Regions from separate parts of the Homo sapiens genome. Here region 2 is linked to region 1. The links are contacts of gene promoters, found by promoter capture Hi-C in blood cells and fetal thymus (Javierre and others, 2016). All regions are on one chromosome and are shown on one strand. The core of a region is centred on a gene start or on the middle of the fragment in contact, and the rest is flanking DNA. Distances in the headings are between cores, read along the strand shown. Region 1 holds the start of TP53I11 (tumor protein p53 inducible protein 11). Region 2 overlaps LOC105376652 (a long non-coding RNA gene).

Region 1 (2,791 bases), core at 197-2,696:
CGGTGAGGGGGCCTTGGCCAGCCGCTCTGGGCTTTGGAGGAGCCTGGGGGTTCTTGGCCTCCGCGCTGCTCTTGCCCCAGCCTCCATCTCTCCGGCGGAGAAACCCACTCCCCCCGGGCTCCAGGAAGAGGCGGAAGCCCGAGACTGGGTCAGGGCGAAGGAAGGTAGAGCGAGGGGACCCAAGGCGAGCGCCCCGCCCCGCCCCGCCCAGCGGGGCGCGCCGGGGTGGGCGCGGCGTTCTGGCCCTTCCTCCACACAGCCTCCCCCGGGTAGGTGCGAGTGTTCTGCCCACGGCAGGGGCCCTAACCCACCCAGCGCCCGGCCAGTGGCCCCACACTGTACCCTTCCTGCAGATCGCGCGACTTTGGGGAGAGTGGGGGGCGTCTCCACCTGTGCGTCCCCTACCCACCCCCTAACTGGGCTAAGGCGCGGCCTGGGTTTCTGCCCGCCCCTTTCCAGCCTGGGGACGGGGGACTCTCTCAGCCTCGCCCCTCCCCCTGCAATCTGTCCCTGATGTCCCCGCTCCAGACACTCACCCACTTTCTGAGACCCAGGCCTCAGCGCCGGTGTCCCCCGGCGGTGAGCTCCGAGCCGTTAGGCGGCCCCGGGTTCTCCGGCCCAGGGCCCCTGCCCCCAGGCCCCCACCCCAGAAGGTCGGGCCAGACTTGTGGGCAGCGGGAACTCCGCCACCACCTCCGTCCGCGGCCCTGCGGGGGCAAAGACTGGGGGAACTCGCAAGTTTGCGCCGCGCACTCCTCCTGCCGGGAACAATGGCGGGAGGGGGAGGGGACAGAGAACCGAGCGCGGGGGACCGAGTCAGACCCCGGGGAGACAGAAACTGCTTTCGCTCCGTTTCTCTCCTGCTCTGAAGCAGAAAGCTCGAGCCCGAGAGGCAGTGGCCGAGGACGAAATAAGCAGTCCAGGAGGAGGGCGACCGCGGAGCCGGGGGAGAGGGGAAACCGAGTCAGAGGGAGGGGCGGCGAGGGGAGAGCGCGCAGGGGAGACGGAAGGGGCTGCGGGACGGCGCCTTGGGGAGCTGGGGAGGCGACCCCCTGGGGTCCCAGCGGGCTCAGCGGGTGCCGAGATGTCCCGGGGCGCCCGGTTAGCGCGCGCGGGGTCCCGGCCGCCCCTCTGCGGTCCCGTCGGCCGCAGGAGCCCCGCTGGGTTGCGCTGCGCAGGCGGCGGGCGGCGGGAGGGGAAAGTCCGCGGCTCGGAAGCGGCGGCGGGGAGCAGAACTTACGGGCCTCGCGCGTGCCGGCGCTGGGCTACGTGGAGCTGATGCCAGGCGGAGGCTCCGGGCTCGGACGCCTCACATCGCGCCGCCCGTGCCGGGCCGGGCAGTGCAGGGCAGGGCAGGGCAGGGCAGGGCAGGACAGGGCAGGGCAGGGCAGGGCCGGGCCGGCTGGACTGCGCGCGGCGCCCTGCGCGGCCGGGGCTTACCGAGTCTGGCGGCCCGCGCTGGTCCCTCCTCTCGGTTCCGCGCACAAGCCAATGGCGCGCCGTCCCCTCCCACGCGCCGGGCTGCCTCGCCCCCAGGGTGGCCGCCGGGGCGGGCGGGATGGGGGTTGGCGGGGAAACCAGGCTCCCGGCTCCCCCGCGAGGCTCTCCCGGGGGCCGCCTGCAGGGGGCGCACGCGCGCCCGAGAGAAGGCGCCGGGGGAGGAAGCCGCGCGGGGAGACCCTGGCGTGGCCCGCGCCGCCCAGGATGACTTTCCTGGCAAGTTCTGCAGACGGTGCCCCTTTCTTGGGACGATCAACGTAGATGGGCAAACCACACCATCTTAAATAGCCTTGCGGTGTCTCCCGGGCCCAGGCCGGTGCCTGAAATGGAAGGGACTGCTTTGGCTGGCGGTGATACCCAAGTGTGTAATAACACAGTCACGACAATAGTCACCGTTTGCTGCGCACTCTCTGATGCCAGACACCATATGCTAAAGGAGTTACAAGTATTAACTCATTTGATTTTCACAGCAACCCATAAGGGCGCTGTGCTTAGTCCCATTTTACAGGCCATGGTCGTTAAAGTTTGAGTTCACTCAGCCTTCAGGCTTCCAGCCTAGGCCCACCCTTCTCTCTCCCTGCTTGGTGTGACTTGGCCAAATAACATGACCCCACTGTCACTACGGCCACCTTCTTCATACTCCACCCTAAAATCCAGCCTCAGAGATGCTGCTGTCAGTTGCGCTGTCAGGAGGCTAGGATCTTATCTGGGGCTCTAGGACGCTTGTTGGCGCTACAGTTGTCAAACCTTTTGTCTCTACACATCCTATGGGGGGCTGGGGTGAGGATGAGGGTTGGGGGTCATGGAGGCTCTCTGGTGGCGTGTCAACCTGAGAGAACCAGGCTCCTACAGACAAGGCCCCACCCCCAAATTCTGGGCTCCTTCAACCCCTTATGGTGGGAAAATAATGTGCTCTCTCCCACCCCAACCCCCACCACCCTGTGCTCTCCTTAGAGAAATGCCTGGATCTCTTTCATCTGATCTGATGGTCACAGTGGGCCAGGAACCGGGGTGGGGGGCTGCGGGAAAAGGAAGGCAAGGCTGATGACATGCTCCATTTCACAAGTAAATAAGACAGAAAGAGGTGAGTGGCTGCCTCAGGCATCTAGCTAGGTGGGCATTCTGACTCCAGGTCTCGGTTCTGTCTGCACCAGTTCCTTAACGGTTAATAGAGCAGGCTCTGGAACCAGATCACCTAGGTTCAAATCCTGACTCTGCCTTTTAGTGCCTGTGTGGCCTTGGACAAAGTAAGTCACCTAGAGCAACCAATAGTAAGAACCGGCTATGGTTG
Region 2 (2,791 bases), core at 192-2,691, 170 kb after region 1:
GTGGAGTATCAGAAAGAAAGGAGAGAGGAATGAGGCATAACCAGTATTTGAATAAATCATGCCTGAGAATTTTCCAAATACCACAGATTTAGTTTTATAAAGCAAGGCAAAACCCAAGCAGGATAGATACAATGTAAAACCACATGCAGGCTCATAATAAACTGCTGAAAGACAAAGACAAAGACAAACAGTAAAAAGCTGCTAGAGGAAAAAAGGAACCATTACCTTAAAAGAAGTAACAGTAAAACTGACCACTGGTCTTCACTAGAATCTATGGAAGCTAGAAAAAGAATATTGCCAACTTAGAATTCTATATCCACTAAAATGTCCTTTAAAATTAAAGGTGAAATATATTTTCATTAAAAAAAAAACCACATACAGAATCATCACCAGCAGACCAGTATCACAATAAATCAAAAGAGAGTCTGTCCTTCATGGTGAAGGAAAATGAGCCCAGAGAGAACAGACCACAGGAAGGAGTGAATAGTACCCAAGACAATAAGTATGTAGGTAAACATAAAACAATATTGATTACTTAAACCAGCAATAATGACAATGTATCTTCAGCTCATAATATATGTATGAGTACCAATATATGACAATAATAGCACAAAGGGCAAGAGCAGATAAAGTTGAGTTAAACTGTTGTAAGGTTCTTGCATTGAAGGTTCTTGCATTGTTCAAGAAGAAGTAACAGTGCAACCTTAAGGTAGACTGTAATAATTCAGGGATGCAGTTTAGATCCACTGAAAGAAAAAAAGAACATATAACCACGAAGCTAACAGAAGTGACAAAAATAGTCGATAAGTCAAGAAAGGCAGGAAAGGAGGAATTAAAAAACGAAGAATAGATGGTTCAAATAAAAATCAAATCACACGATGGTAGTTTGATACTACCAACTATATCAGCAATTACATTAATTATAAATGGATAAATAGTATAATATGAAATAATTGTCAGATTGAACTAAAAAAACAAGATGCAAATATTAGTTGTTTATAAGAGATACACACAATATAGGAGGACACAAGTTGAAAGGAAAAGAATGAAAAGATATTGCTGGAAACCATTAACAAAAAGCTGGTGTGGTTATATTACTATCTGATAAAGTAGACTTAAAGAAGTAACTTCCCCATATTAGTATGCTCCTCATTTCAAAGCTTCAAATATGCAAAGCAAAAGTAACAGAATTTTTAAAAAAGAAATGGGCAAATTCAAAATCAGAGTTACAGATTTAACACACTTCTCTCAGAAAATGCTAAAACAAGCAAGCAAACAAAAAACAGTGAAATACTGAATATTTAAACAACACAATTAAGCAATTTTATCTGGTTAATGTATATACAACATTATATTGAATAACTGCAGAATGAATATTATTTTGAAGTGCTTGTGGAACATTTACCACAATAGACTACACAATGGGTCATAAAGCAATTAACACAAATTTCAAAGAACTGAAATTATACAGAATATGCTCTCTAACTGGAGTGGAGTTAATTAGAAATCTATATAAAAAGGCAACTAGAAAATCTCTAAATGCTTGAAAATTAAGCAACACACTGCTAAATAGTCCATGGGCCAAAGGAAACATTACAACAGCAAATATTTAGAGTGGGATAATGAAAATTGTGAGCTGCATCTAAAGGCTGTGGTTACAGAAACATTTATAGCCTTAAATGCAATTCTTAGAGAAAAAGATATACGGAAAATTAATGAATCTAAGCTTCCCTCTCAGGAAGATAGATAAACAACAGCAAATTAAACCTCAAGAAAGTGGAAGGAAAGAAATAGTAAAGATGAAAGCAGAAATCAAATAGGAAAAAAAATACACAGTGGAGAAAATGAGCAAAGATAAAAGTTAGGCCTTTAAATAAGTAAATAAAATGTATAAACCCCTACTAAGAAGAGAGACACAGACAGACACACACACAGACACACACACACACACACACACACACACACACACAGAGAGAAACAGAATATCAGCTAAGAAAGTGGGTTATCAGTACAGGTTCTAGAGACATTTAAAAGATATCATGGTATTTTTTTTATTATTATTATACTTTAAGTCTTAGGGTACATGTGCACAATGTGAAGGTTTGTTACACATGTATACCATGTATACATGTATACATGGTATACATATGCCATGTTGGTGTACTGCACCCATTAACTCGTCATTTAGCATTAGGTATATCTCCTAATGCTATCCCTCCCCCCTCCCTCCACCCCACAACAGTCCCTGGAGTGTGATGTTCCCCTTCCTGTGTCCATGTGTTCTCATTGTTCAATTCCCACCTATGAGTGAGAACATGCAGTGTTTGGTTTTTTTGTCCTTGTGATAGTTTGCTGAGAATGATGACTTCCAGTTTCATCCATGTCCCTACAAAGGACATGAACTCCTCATTTTTTATGGCTGCATAGTATTCCATGGTGTATATGTGCCACATTTTCTTAATCCAGTCTATCGTTGTTGGACATTTGGGTTGGTTCCAAGTCTTTGCTATTGTGAATAGTGCCACAGTAAACATACATGTGCATGTGTCTTTATAGCAGCATGATTTATAGTCCTTTGGGTACATACCCAGTAATGGGATGGCTGGGTCAAATGGTATTTCTAGTTCTAGATCCCTGAGGAATCGCCACACTGACTTTCACAATGGTTGAACTAGTTTACTAGTCCCACCAACAGTGTAAAAGTGTTCCTATTTCTCCACTTCCTCTCCAGCACCTGTTGTTTCCTGACTTTTTAATGATCGCCATTCTAACTGGTGTGAGATGGTATCTC

Evidence for each region. Contacts are between HindIII fragments. The CHiCAGO score rates a contact against its expected background, and 5 or more counts as called.
Region 2: a fragment that was not itself captured here is called in contact with the fragment with the promoter of TP53I11 in region 1 in 11 of 17 cell types (monocytes, total CD4 T cells, non-activated CD4 T cells and 8 more); the score reaches 8.4 in monocytes.

Annotation. Positions count from the first base shown.
Region 1 is chr11:44,949,437-44,952,227 of GRCh38, forward strand. TP53I11 (tumor protein p53 inducible protein 11) reads right to left here and starts at 1,447. Exons shown (of 7, transcript NM_006034.5): 1 at 1,241-1,447. RefSeq lists silencers at 1,217-1,346, 1,377-1,636. The HindIII fragment of the contact is 12,322 bases long and covers 1-2,791 here.
Region 2 is chr11:45,120,268-45,123,058 of GRCh38, forward strand. The region is part of intron 3 of LOC105376652 (a long non-coding RNA gene); the gene reads right to left. It also overlaps a transcript of PRDM11 not described here. Among named protein-coding and RNA genes, the nearest start is that of PRDM11, 25 kb to the right of the region's middle. The HindIII fragment of the contact is 566 bases long and covers 1,159-1,724 here.